3 separate regions of the Homo sapiens genome follow, and all the other regions are linked to region 1. The links are contacts of gene promoters, found by promoter capture Hi-C in blood cells and fetal thymus (Javierre and others, 2016). All regions are on one chromosome and are shown on one strand. Each heading gives the region's core, a stretch centred on a gene start or on the middle of the fragment in contact. The rest is flanking DNA. Distances are from core to core; before and after follow the strand shown. Region 1 holds the start of PRR14L (proline rich 14 like). Region 2 overlaps PIK3IP1 (phosphoinositide-3-kinase interacting protein 1). Region 3 holds the start of DRG1 (developmentally regulated GTP binding protein 1).

The links. The method cuts DNA at HindIII sites, captures the fragments that hold promoters and counts their contacts. A CHiCAGO score of 5 or more calls a contact.
Region 2: a fragment that was not itself captured here is called in contact with the fragment with the promoter of PRR14L in region 1 in 2 of 17 cell types (fetal thymus and naive CD4 T cells); the score reaches 5.2 in fetal thymus.
Region 3: a fragment that was not itself captured here is called in contact with the fragment with the promoter of PRR14L in region 1 in 2 of 17 cell types (monocytes and non-activated CD4 T cells); the score reaches 5.3 in monocytes.

What each region holds. Positions count from the first base shown.
Region 1 is chr22:31,747,713-31,752,018 of GRCh38, reverse strand. PRR14L (proline rich 14 like) reads left to right here and starts at 1,887. Exons shown (of 9, transcript NM_173566.3): 1 at 1,887-2,026. RefSeq lists enhancers at 1,662-1,956, 1,446-2,005, 2,245-2,877. The HindIII fragment of the contact is 5,796 bases long and covers 1-2,927 here.
Region 2 is chr22:31,287,151-31,291,456 of GRCh38, reverse strand. PIK3IP1 (phosphoinositide-3-kinase interacting protein 1) reads left to right here. Exons shown (of 6, transcript NM_052880.5): 2 at 161-277; 3 at 373-492; 4 at 1,758-1,958; 5 at 2,064-2,142. Among named protein-coding and RNA genes, the nearest start is that of PIK3IP1, 3.2 kb to the left of the region's middle. RefSeq lists silencers at 197-316, 497-726 and enhancers at 777-976, 2,124-2,173. The HindIII fragment of the contact is 5,705 bases long and covers 1-4,306 here.
Region 3 is chr22:31,395,381-31,399,686 of GRCh38, reverse strand. It overlaps DRG1 (developmentally regulated GTP binding protein 1), which reads right to left and starts at 83. Exons shown (of 9, transcript NM_004147.4): 1 at 1-83. The coding sequence starts at 3. RefSeq lists enhancers at 1-23, 1-56 and a silencer at 144-423. The HindIII fragment of the contact is 1,856 bases long and covers 1,388-3,243 here.

The DNA of each region.
Region 1 (4,306 bases), core at 638-3,137:
CTCCTGAGAGATGTCCATAATGGGACATCTTAAAAAGGCAAATTTTTTTTTTTTTTTGAGACGGAGTCTCCCTCTGTCGCCCAGGCTGGAGTGCAGTGGCCCGATCTCGGCTCACTGCAACCTCTGCCTCCCGGGTTCATGCCATTCTCCCGCCTCAGCCTCCCGAGTAGCTGGGACTACAGGTGCCCGCCACCACGCCTGGCTAATTGTTTATAATTTTTAGTAGAGAGGGGGTTTCACCGTATTAGCCAGGATGGTCTTGATCTCCTGACCTCGTGATCCGCCCGCCTTGGCCTCCCAAAGTGCTGGGATTATAGGCTTCAGCCACCACGCCCGGCCAAAAGGCAAATATTTTAACTTTTTAATTTGGCAACTCTCATAAAGAAACTCTGAAGGCCAGGAGTGGTGGCTCACGCCTGTAATCCCAGCACTTTGGGAGGCCGAGGCAGGCGGATCACTCGAGGTCAGGAGTTCAAGACCAGCCTGGCCAACATGGTGAAACCCTGTCTCTACTAAAAATACAAAAATTAGCTGGGCATGGTAGCATGCGCCTGTAATCCCAGCTACTCAGGAGGCTGAGGCTGGAGAATCTCTTGAACCTGGGAGGCAGAGGTTGCAGTGAGCCGAGATCCTACCACTGCACTCCAGCCTGGTGTCAGAACGTGGCCCCGTCTCAAAAAAAAAAAAAAGAAAGAAAGAAACGAAACTTTGAAGCATTCAATTTTTTTTTTTTTTTTTTTTTTTGAGACAGTGTCTTGTTTTGTTGCCCAGGCTGGAGTGCAGTGGGGGCACCATCATAGCTCAATGCAGCTTCAAACTCCTGGGCTCAAACGATCCTCCTGCTTCAGGCTCCCCAGTAGCTAGGAGCACAGGTGCATCAACACCTGAGCAATTTTTGTTTTGTTTTGAGAAAGAGTCTTGCTGTGTCATCCAGGCTGGAGTGCAGTGGCACTATCACTGCTCACTGCAGCCTCAACCTTCCAGCCTCAAGTGATCTTCCTGCCTCAGCCTCCAGAGTAGCTGGGATTACAGGCACACATCACCAGACCCAGCTGTTTGTTTTTTGGCAGAAACGATGTCTCACTATGTTGCCCAGGCTGGTCTCAAACTTCTGGGCTGAAGTGCTTCTCCCGCTTTCGCCTCCCAAAGTGCTGGATTACAGGCGTGAGACACCGCGCCTGGTCGATTTCTATTTTTTAACACAAAGCCGTATTATTTGGGGCAAGTCGATTTCATTATCTGGACCTCAATTCTTCCACTGGATAAACATTTCTTCCTTCCTTCAAATGTCCATTGAGCGTCTAGTTTTGTGCCGGACACTGCTCTTGGTGCTGAGCATTAAGTGATGAACAAAACAGACAAGGTGGAGGAAGATAAATGATAAACAAGTCAATAAAGAGATGAGACATAGAAATTTCAGCTAGTGTTAAAGCTATGAAGAAAATAAAACAAGGTTCTGTAACCAACTGGAGGCAGAGGTGCCATTTATTTAGTGGTCAGTGTGATTAGAAGAAGCAGAGGAGTGTCATGACCCAAAACACTCTTTCCAGTAGAATAAGATCTCTCGGGCTGCCAGAGTGGAAGCAGGCAGGCCCTTAGAATTGTAGCCGTCCAGACTAGAAAAACGGTGGACTGGAACAGGGTGACAGCAGCGAAGGCCGGCACTGGGTCCTGTGGCTCAGCAGGAGCAGAACCAAAAGTTGTGTTTCCCTTTAAGAGTTTGAGCCGCAGGGGCGGGGTTGAGGGAGGCTGGGGCTAGCAGAGGGCGGGAGGTCAGAATCAGGAAGAGCCTTCCCTTGGAGTGCGCGCGCGCGGTGCGGGGGCGGGATTTGGGCGAGTCCGCATGGCTGGCTCGGGCCCCGGATGAGGAAGTGCAGGGGGACCATAGAGACGAAGAGGTGGCGGCGGCCGGAGCGCCCCCGGCCTCTGTCGGCTCCGTAGGCTCAGGTAGACCTGGCGACGACGGGGCTGCAGCTGCAGGGGCTGAGCTGGCTGGGCAAGCGCGGGCCGCGGAGGAGGTCTCAGGGTAAGAGGCCGGGACTGGAAGGCTTCGGGCGTAGCCGCCCCGCCCCACTCCGCCCTAAAGGGACCCTCCGCCGGGTGGTGCTGCTAAAGGGGAGTCCAGGCCCCCCGCCCTCTCGGGGCGCGGAAAGGAACCAAGGCTGCCCTGTGGGCGGCGGAACGACCCAGGGAGAGGGAGGAGACCAGGCCCCGCGTCGCTAGAGAAAAGCGGCTTCTCCGAGTCATGGCTCCGACGCGGGAGAGAGACTCCTCTTCAACCTCGATACAACAGGGATCCCCCAACTTATCTCCTCGGAGAGGACGACGCCCCTTATCGGAGGCGTACGCTCTTTCTTAGCGCTCATCCGTTGGTCAGCAGAGGGAGACCCACTCCCAGGGTTCGAGGGGGATTCTGAACTTATCCTGAGGAGGAGTAAAAGATAACCCCTAAATGAGACCTTTCCCCCAACTTTGGTCAGCGTCACCCAGGTGAAGAGTGAGACCCAACTTGCCTGAAAGTGACAGAGGGGATCTTTCTTCCCAGTAAGAAAGAGACTTACCTTCCTCCTTTATTTTTCGCCTGTACCCCAAGATACGGAGAGGAAGACCTTGAAATTTTACTTTATGGTATCAGAAATCAACCTTTCTCCCTCTCCCCTCGTGATGTCCACAGAGAGACCCTCGCTTCTCTTCTTCCCTTTAAGCCTCTTGGTGTGCAGTGAGCTCCTTTCCCTTGCATTATTAAGAGCATGGCTTTTGGAGTGTAATCGTTGCAAACCTGGGTCTCTCACTTAACGTCTTTGTGACCTTGACTATTTGTTTAACTTGTCTGAATCTCAGTCCATCTCCAATTTGGGTTCTGTTTTCTTAGAATTGTCATGCGGGCTAAGGGAGCATTTGTGTAAATACTAGTTATATAGTAAGCTTTTGGTAAGCTGTTGCTATTACTATTACTTAATCTGTTAAAAAAGAAAACTAATATCTTGCACAGAGAAGCATATTTTTCCATGCATGCCCCTCGCAGCCTCCATCACAAGTGTTCAACCATCCTTTCTCACTGGAGTGGAAGACTCCCTCCCACTTAGGGGTTAGAGAAAGAGACACTTCCAGTCCCCTTAGATCCTGCTGTTCAATACTTTCCCAAATTAACAAAGAGGGCCTCACTGAAAATAATCAGTAAAAAAAAGACTTAGCTTTTGGAAACAGGTCTGTGCTCTTAAGAGAAAGTGAGACCTGATGCCAGACGCCAGCACTTCCTTTGTCCACAGAAGGTATCACTTCTTCCTGACTGGTTAGAGATGCCCTCTCCCACTTCCCTGACTTACTGTAGTGACAAAAAATCTTCCATCTGCACATCCTTCCCACCCCCCCAAGTGGGCGATTCCATATTCTTCCTGTCTTTTGCTCTCCCAAGAAAATGAAGACTCTATACCTTTGAGGAGAGATCTCTTCCCTCTTGTATATGGAAAATGACACAGATTGTTTCTTTTCTCCTTTTCCTTTATAAAACAGAGGAAAATCTTTTATACAGGAAGCCTCTGTCAGTAGAAATCAGGAGCATTTTCCAGTTTCACTCCTTACGTGGAGACAGGGATCCTTTTTCTGGATGTTATTAAAGGGAGGAAATGGGAAATAGTCCTTGATGCTTTAGAGATTTTCTGCACGCTCCATGTTGAAGCGCTTGCCCTGTTTAGTGTATGAACTTCCCTGCCTCACTTTTGGTTTGTCTTGGGATTTTATTAAAAAACTCTTCTTTCTTTGTTTCTCAAGAAGAGGCCCATTCTCCAAATTCCCTCTTGGAGGGAATGGCTACAATGTCTGAATCTTTGGAAAAGAAAGCCCCTTTCTCAAGGTGAAAAGAGTGTTGTGAGCTTCTGAGGGCCTGGTCATTATTGTGAGTATTGTTCCTGAAGCAAGCATGGCAGCGCCTAGTGTTATTAACAGCCCCTATGCATTGGAATTAAAGGGAGGGGAGACTTTCAGATTCGGGATTATTGAGGCACACGGTTTTATGTTCTGTTTTTTTTTTGCTTGTTGCTGTAAATTTTGTACCTCCAGAACTTTTGTTTTGGGGAGTGTTTGAATGACTAAAAGTTGCCACTTTGTCAGGTTTTTAGTGTTATAAAATGTATTCTGATGAGATTGAGAGCAACAATGTTAATCCTTCACTGGTAGGTTTGTTTTCCTGTTTTTGTTTTTTTTTTTTTTTGGTGGGATAGGAATTAACACTGCCAAATTACCTGAAAGCACACTAAAGAAACGCTTACCATCTTTTTTTGTATGTAAAGTGTTCTTAAATTACCTC
Region 2 (4,306 bases), core at 916-3,415, 460 kb after region 1:
GGGGTGTTGCCACGAGAGGAGAGGGAGGCCCAGCAGGGCCCGGGGTCCCCTAACCAGGCTGAGGTTCAGCCCGGGTGGTCCCGGCTCCCCTGTCCGCCACGCTGGGCGTCTTCCGTTCGCTGCCCGCTATTCTGTGTCCGGGGGCTTCTTTTCCTCACAGGCTGTTTCTGGGACAACGGCCACCTGTACCGGGAGGACCAGACCTCCCCCGCGCCGGGCCTCCGCTGCCTCAACTGGCTGGACGCGCAGAGCGGGCTGGCCTCGGCCCCCGTGTCGGGTAAGTGTCCTCCGGGGGACGGCCCCGGGGCTGGCGGGCGGCGGCCGCGTTCCCGGTGCCAGCCCCGGCACACATTTCCTTCTCTCCTCTCTTAGGGGCCGGCAATCACAGTTACTGCCGAAACCCGGACGAGGACCCGCGCGGGCCCTGGTGCTACGTCAGTGGCGAGGCCGGCGTCCCTGAGAAACGGCCTTGCGAGGACCTGCGCTGTCCAGGTACCTGCCCGGGACCCCGGGAATCCCCGCTCCTGGCGCTGACAGGAAGCGGCTGAGACACTCGTGGCGCACGTGCGGCCGCGCGATGCCGGCCGGCCCCGCTCCGCCTCCGCGCCGTCCGATTGGCCAGGGCTGTCTCCAGGCCGCGGGGCTCAAAGCCTATTGGCCGCCGCCGCCACTCGTATGAGCTCATCCGCCGCGAGCGCTTGTAAACAACTGCGCGGGGCGAGGCTGGGGTGAGGCTAGGTCTCTCCGCCGCGCGTCCTGAGGAGTGGCTTTTGGCCCCTCAGCGTTTATTGACCGTTTGCGGAGCGTCTGCAGTGTGCTAGACCCACACTGCTCACAACCCCAGCTCCCCAACCTCCCCTGACACACACCGCGGGAAGAAGTCGTTTGAGGCATCTGAGCTTCAGAGAAGTTAAGCGATTTACCAAAGGCAATGGCAGGGGACAGATTTGAATTCACGTTTCTTAGATTCCAGAGCGCAGGCTTTTTGCTCCCAAAGCAGCAAGAGAGTTTTCTAGGTTTAAATGGGATAATCAAAATAAAGCATTTATTTTTTATTTTTTATTTTTTGAGACGGAGTCTCGTTCTGTCACCCAGGCTGGAGTGCAGTGGCGCAATTTCGGCTCACTGCAACTTCCGCCTTCCGCGTTACAGTGATTCTCCTGCCTCAGCCGCTTGAGTAGCTGGGATAACAGGCGTGCACCACCACGCCCAGCTAATTTTTGTATTTTTAGTAGAGACGGGGTTTCACCATGTTGGCCGGGCTGCTCTCTAACTCCTGACCTCAGGTGATCCGACCGTCTGGCCTCCCAAAGTGCTGGGATTACAGGCGTGAGCCACCGCTCCCGGCACAAAGTAAAACATTTTACCTAAGGACTGGCACAGAGCGTACGCTTAGATGTGAGCTGCTCAAAGGAAGCATGGGTTGTTTCCTGAAGTAGAAGTGGGGGGAATCCCCTGCAGAAGAACGCAACCGAGAGGGGCCTTGGGAAATAGCAAGGATTTGGACAGATAAAGACGTGGGAGGTAGGAGAGAAGCCCTTCCCTACGGCCTTCCTCTCTCATTTGCCTTGTCCCTGAGATGGTTCAGCCCTCTCAGGCCTGATCTTACCTCTGGGGCAGAATTTGACTTTGGGTTGTGTGTGGGGGGAAATTCTTAGGTGACCCACCTTCATCTACCCTAACACTCAGGCCAGGTTCAGCTGTGGAATTCACTCAGGGCAGTCCCTGATGAGAGCTGTTTCCCACCTCATCTCCAGAGACCACCTCCCAGGCCCTGCCAGCCTTCACGACAGAAATCCAGGAAGCGTCTGAAGGGCCAGGTGCAGATGAGGTGCAGGTGTTCGCTCCTGCCAACGCCCTGCCCGCTCGGAGTGAGGCGGCAGCTGTGCAGCCAGTGATTGGGATCAGCCAGCGGGTGCGGATGAACTCCAAGGAGAAAAAGGACCTGGGAACTCTGGGTATGACGGTCCCCCACCCCTGCCCTCGTTGGGATTCATCAAGAGATGTCATTTGCTGATTGTCTAGGGTGTGGCTAATGGGACCTTGTGTCCTATCCTTGGCAGGCTACGTGCTGGGCATTACCATGATGGTGATCATCATTGCCATCGGAGCTGGCATCATCTTGGGCTACTCCTACAAGAGGTCAGTAGCTTCTCTTCTGGGCCCTCTTAGGAGGAGGGGAGGAAGGTACACAAAGTCAAACTTTGTGGCTTTCTTACCCAAAAGGAAGCAAGATGTTGAAAATCAGCTCAAGATGTAGAGACTTGGTCCTAGTCTTTATCTGCTGACCTTGGACAAACCCTTTCCTTTGGTGCCTTTACACCTCACTTAAAAGCCTTGTGAGGGATGTTCTTGTTCCGCATTTTACAAATGAAGAAGCCTCTGTCAGAGACTTGCTCAAAGTCACATAGCCTAGGAGTGGCAGAACCTGGATTCAGACCCAGCTCTTTTGATAGCAAATTCCCTGCTGTCTGATCCCACATGCCTGGCATTGAAGTGAGTGGCACTGCAGAAATCAGGCTTGACACTGATTGCAGGGACCTTAAGACCAAATTCTTTCTGTGAGTTATAAAATTCTGCTACTAGAAAAGGTTTCCAGCCACTGTTGCAGTTGAGGCTTAAATTTCCTGAGCTATAAGCAGTGGGATCTCCTCTGCTAGGGAAGAAAAAAGTGAGTTGGAGAACAGAAAGTCTGTTTGCCACTCTTCACCACGTGTGAGAAAGCCAAAGAGGCTACTTGTGAAACTCAAGGACATGACCTGTGGCTGGGACAGCAGGAGAAGAATGCTTATTTTGAAAGGTCCCACGAGATGTCCGTCAGTGACTGGTGCATGATGGTAAGCCAGACTGGCATTCATCTTTACAGCACTGGCTGATTGTGGAAAATTATTTGCCATTCTTGGGCAAAATCGGGGGATTTGACTTCTAGCCCTGGGTGTCTGTAATATTCTCCTCTGTGGTCTGAGAAAACTTCCTGTGAGGAAAGTGACACAGTAGCCTGCATTTTTCCTTCCTTTCCTCCCTCCCTCCCTCCCTTCCTTCCTTCCCCTTTCTTTCCTTCCTTTCTTTGATTTTTTTTTTTCAGGGTCTCGCTCTATTGCCTAGGCTTGAGTGCAGTGGTGCGATCACGGCTCACTGCAGCCTCAACCTCCCAGGGCGCAAGTAATTACCCCCACCCACCCCCACTGAGTAGCTGGGACTACAGGCATGTCCCACCATGCCTGGCTGATTTTTAATTTTTTTATAGAGACAGGGTCTCACTGTGTTGCCCAGGCTAGTCTCAAACTCCTGGGCTCAAGCAGTCCTCCTACCTCAGCCTCCCAAAGTGTATAGGCATGAACCACCATGCCTGGCATGCAGCCTGCATTTTCCAGTGATGAGGGCCATGTCTGAGCCCACAGCCTCAGTGGATCACCCAGCAGGGCATCTTTAAAGGCCTTGTAGTCAACCTCCTCATTACAGATGAAAAAGGGGAAGTTTGGGTATAATAATAACAGCAGTAGCAAACATGTACCGTATGCCAGACACTGCTTGAAGCACATGCTTTAACTCATAATCACCCTTATGAGGTAAATGCTGTCATCTCCAATTTACAGATGAGGAAACTGAGGCAAGAGGGGATTATATACGTTACCTGAGGTTACACACCTAGCATTTGGTGGAGAGAAGTCCTTTAACTAGCTATCTCTGTGACCCTGGGCAAATTGCTTCAATTTCCTACTCCACATCATGGTGTGGAGCTATGGCTTTTGACTACTTAGCTCAGGGTGTGGCACATAGTAGGTGGTCAGTAAATGATGGCTGTTTTTCTTTTCTATAAAATGTGTGGCTGGGCGTGGTGGCTCACACCTGTAATCCTAGCACTTTGGGAGGCCGAGGCGGGCAGATCATGAGGTCAGGAGTTCGAGACCAGCCTGGCCAACATAGTGAAATCCTGTCTCTACTAAAAATACAAAAAATTAGCCAGGCGTGGTGGCGGGCACTTGTAATCCCGGCTACTTGGGAGGCTGAGGCAGGAGAATCGCTTGAACCTGGGAGGCTGAGGTTGCAGTGAGCCGAGATTGTGCCACTGCACTCCAGCCTGGGCGACAGAGCCATACTCCGTCTCAAAAAAAAAAAAAAAAAAATGTAGGTAATGGACCAGGCGTAGTGGCTCACACCTGTAATCCTAGCACTTTGGGAGGCAGAGGTGGGTGGATCGCTTGAGCCCAAGAGTTCGAGACCAGCATGGGCAACATGGCAAAACCCTGTCTCTACAAAAAAATACAAAAATTAGCCAGGCATGGTGGTGGGCGCCTGTAGTCCT
Region 3 (4,306 bases), core at 1,066-3,565, 350 kb after region 1:
CATCGTGGCGAGTACCCTGTGGCCTCCACACTGTCTCCCTTCACACACCCGCGGGCAAACTGCCACCGCCACCAGGCGCTACTGCAGCACGCAGGCGCGGTACTTCGAATTACCGCGAGAGAGTTCCGCGTAGGGGTCACCGCGAGTCGCAAAGCGTGGGGCTGTCTCCTCCCCCTCACCCGACCCCGCCCCGTCCCGCGAGCCAGTGCGGTGTCATAGAGCCCGCGGGAGCGGAGGCCAGAGAGGCCACCCCTGTCTGGGCCTCCCCGAGCGCGCCGAGGGTCGCGCGCAGCTCGGCCCCGCCCAGCGGGACCCGCTCCCAGCTGCTCTGCATGGTACTGAACGCTTCAGTGCTGGAGACCCCAGGGCGTGGTGCAAAGCCGACTCATGCTCCGCACCCCTGTTCCTCGCCAGCATCTGCGGGTCCTGGGTCCCTTTTTCACAGCTGGGGTGACACCCCGACGCCCTCCATGGTCTTGGAGGGAGTAGAGACCCATCTTCAGCCTGCCTCACCCCCTTGGATAAAGAAAATGCCCCCTTTCTATCATTCAAAATTATTTTTAGGTCGGTTTTGTTTACTCCGAACCCCGAGTAGAGCACATGGGGAGCCCAAAATAAGTGCATACTTGAATGGATAATTCCCAGAGAACTGCTGCTTGCAACATAGTTTGTAATACCAAAAAATTGAAATCTATATTAACACCCATCAGTAGGAAAATGGATAAATGAATAATGCCTCTATCCTGTTTTTGAAATATGATTACAGCCGTTAAAACGTAGATCTGTGGTCTGACTGGCTACCCAGGACATGTTAAATGGGAAAACAACTAGCAGAAGGGCACCTACGTAGTGATACCATTTATGTTATTTTTAAAATTAAATGTACATTTATATAGGTGTACGTGTATGAACGTGCAGTTTAAAGGCCTAAACAGAAAAATACATCAGAAGCTCTTAACTGTGGGATGGGATGCAAAGAAAAGGCCTTTCACATTTTATTCCACAGAATTTTGAAGTTAAATTTTTACAAGACGAATGTATCCATGTATTACTTGTGTAATAATAAAATTTAAAATTTCAAAAGACTCCTCTTCCCCAAGTGTCATGAGGAAGCCAGGACGTCCAGGAACTATGTGGTGGTTTTGAAAGCGGTTTGCCTCAGGATCAATGGGTTGTTTTGATAGATTGATTATTCCAGCGGGAGTCGACAGGCCAGGCTTAACCCACAGTCGACAGGCCAGGCTTAACCCACAGGGCTGGCCTCCACCCAGCCCTGGGAGGGAAGTTTAATTTAGTTAAATTTGTAAACAAGAACTATTCTAACTTCCCAGAGACAAAAAAGGGAGGTTTTCTTGTGCATAAAGAGGGAGAAACAGAAGGGAAAGCTTTTACAGAAGGTCCCCAAAGGGCCAAAGAGAGTTTCTTCTTTCTTTTCTTTAACCTCAGCCTTTTTCATAAATAAATTAAGGGATGATGAGGTAATTAGATCCCACACTATTAGCAATGGAGGAGGGAAGATGAGGAGGTCCAGCTGGAATGGGACATGATCAAAGATCAATCTTAAAAGACAGATAAAATCAAATCAGCAGGCCTATCCTAACTTGAAGTACTTAAGGAATTAATTGGCTGACAATATCAAGGGCATCACTGCTCTGTGAGTAGGTGCTCCTTAGCAAATCTATTATATGAGGCCTGCAGATAAGTTAACACTTACTGCTCAAAGACACCCTGGGACCCACCTTGGGGCCCTGAACTGTCAATAGGCACCAAAGAGTAATACTCATTTTCCCGAGTCCTGGGTGGCCATCCTGTTCATGCAATCGTTATTTACAGAGCTCCAACTGCTGCCTGGCACTGTGACAACACTGGGGACAGAGTAGAGAGTGAATCAGATATGTTCCTGCACATAACAAGTATTTAGGCCGGGCGCGGTGGCTCATGCCTGTAATCCCAGCACTTTGGGAGGCCGAGGTGGGTGGCAGATCACGAGGTCAGGAGATCGAGACCATCCTGGCTAATACGGTGAAACCCGGTGTCTACTAAAAATACAAAAAATTAGCCAGGCATGATGGCATGCACCTGTAGTCCCAGCTACTCAGGAAGCTGAGGCAGGAAAATCCCTTGAACCCGGGAGGCGGAGGTTGCAGTGAACCAAGAATGTGCCACTGCACTCCAGCCTGGCGACAGAGGGAGACTCAGTCTCAAAAAAAAAAAGTATCCAGGCTGGGGCTGGGCACAGTGGCTCACCCCTGTAATCCCAGCACTTTGGGAGGCCGAGGCAGGTGGATCACCTGAGGTCAGGAGTTCGAGACCAGCCTGGCCAGCATGGTGAAACCCCGTCTCTATTAAAAATACTAAAATTAGCCGGGCGTGGTGGCGGGCGCCTGTAATCCCAGCTACTCAGGAGGCTGAGCAGGAGAATCGCTTGAACCCGGGAGGCAGAGGTTGTAGTGAGCCGAGATCATGCCATTGCACTACAGCCTGGAGCCAGGACGACAAGAGCGAGACTCTATCTCAAGGAAGAAAAAAAAAGAAGTATCCAGGCTGGGAGGCCAAGGCCAGGACCTTAGGTTCAGCTCCTAAGAGCCATAGCTACCCCATGTCTGTTAAGTACCAACTGCAGCAAGGAGAGCCCATTTGGTCATATGAATAAAGCACTAGCACCTTGGTATTAAATGTGTAAAAAATAAATAGGCCGGGGACAGTGGCTCACAGTTTAATCCCAGTGCTTTCAGAGGTTGAGGTGGGAGGATCGCTTGAGGCCAGGAGTTCAAGACCAGCCTGGGCATTGAAGCCAGGAGTTCAAGACCTGCCTGGGCAACATAGGGAGACGCCCCATCTCTACAAAAAAAAAAAAATTAGCCGGTCTGCAAAAAATTTAAAAATTAGCCAGACGTGGTAGCACATACCTGTAGTCTGAGCTATGTGTGAGGCTGAGGCAGGAGGATCACTTGAGCCCAGGAGGTCAAGGCCACAGTAAGCCATGATCAGATCACTGCACTCCAGCTTGGGTAACAGCAAGACCCTGTCTCAAAAAAAAAAAAAAAAATTATTCAGGCTTGTTGGCCCGCACCTGTAGTCCTAGCTACTGGGAAGGCTCAGGCAGGAGGTTCACTGGAGCCCAGGACTTTGACGTTACACTGGGCTATGATCCCACCACTGCACTCCAGCCTGGGTGAAAGAGCGAGAAACTACCTCTAAAATAAATAATAAATAAGTAAAACAAAGATTGACAGAAAAGCTTCATCTCTTGATGAGACACTCCCACCATTCCAGAACAATTATATGTGGTCAAATACATAGGCTTTCTCGGGCACTGTTTTACTTCTCTTGACTCCCATTAAACCATGATCCCTGGCCAGGTTTGGTGGCTCACGCCTGGCTCACTCCCAGCACTTTGGGAGGCCAAGGCAGAAGGATCGCTTAAGCCCAGGAGTTTGGGACCAGCCTGGGTAACACAGCAATACCTCATCTCTACGAAAATAAAAAAAATTAGCTGGGTACAGGGGGCAACATGACGAAACCCCGTCTCTACAAAAAATCAGTGTGGTGGTATAATCTCAGCTACTCGGGAGGCTGAGGTGGGCCCAAGAAGACGAGGCTGCAGTAAGCTGTGATCATGCCACTGCACTTCAGCCTGGGTGACAGAGTGGGACCCTGTCTCAAAAAAACAAAACAGACAAAGAAGAAAAAAACAAAACAAAAAAGACATGATCCCATGAGGAAGGAGTGATACTATATCTATCTCCAGCACCAGCAGATGTGCAGCTACAACAACCTCTTGAAAGATATTTTAAAAATGGAAATTTTAAGAGAGAAATTGTTTTTTTTCAAGAAGCAGAAAAGATGTTTGAAGTGATGTATATCCCAGTTACTCTGATTTTATGACACATTGTATACATGTATCAAAATACCACATGTAGCCCCCAAATATGTACAACTATTAAATATCAACAAAAATTTTAGAATAAAATAACATAAAGAGAAAGAAAAAGTATTTAATTTTTTTTCTAAGTAGTCTGTATATGTTATTATAGACACCTTAATAATTGAGTCAGGTTGATGGAAGAAGTAACAGGATAATGATACAAGAAAAATCCATGTTATTTATTTATTTATTTATTATGAGACAGGGTCTTACTGTGTCACCCAGACTGGAGTGCAGTGGTGCAATCTAGGCTCACTGCAACCTCCGCCTCCAGGGCTCAGGCCATCCTCCCACCTCAGCCTCCCAAGTAGCTGGAACCACAGGCTTGCACTGCCATGCCCAACTTTTTTTTTTTTTTTTGTATTTTTAGTAGAGACA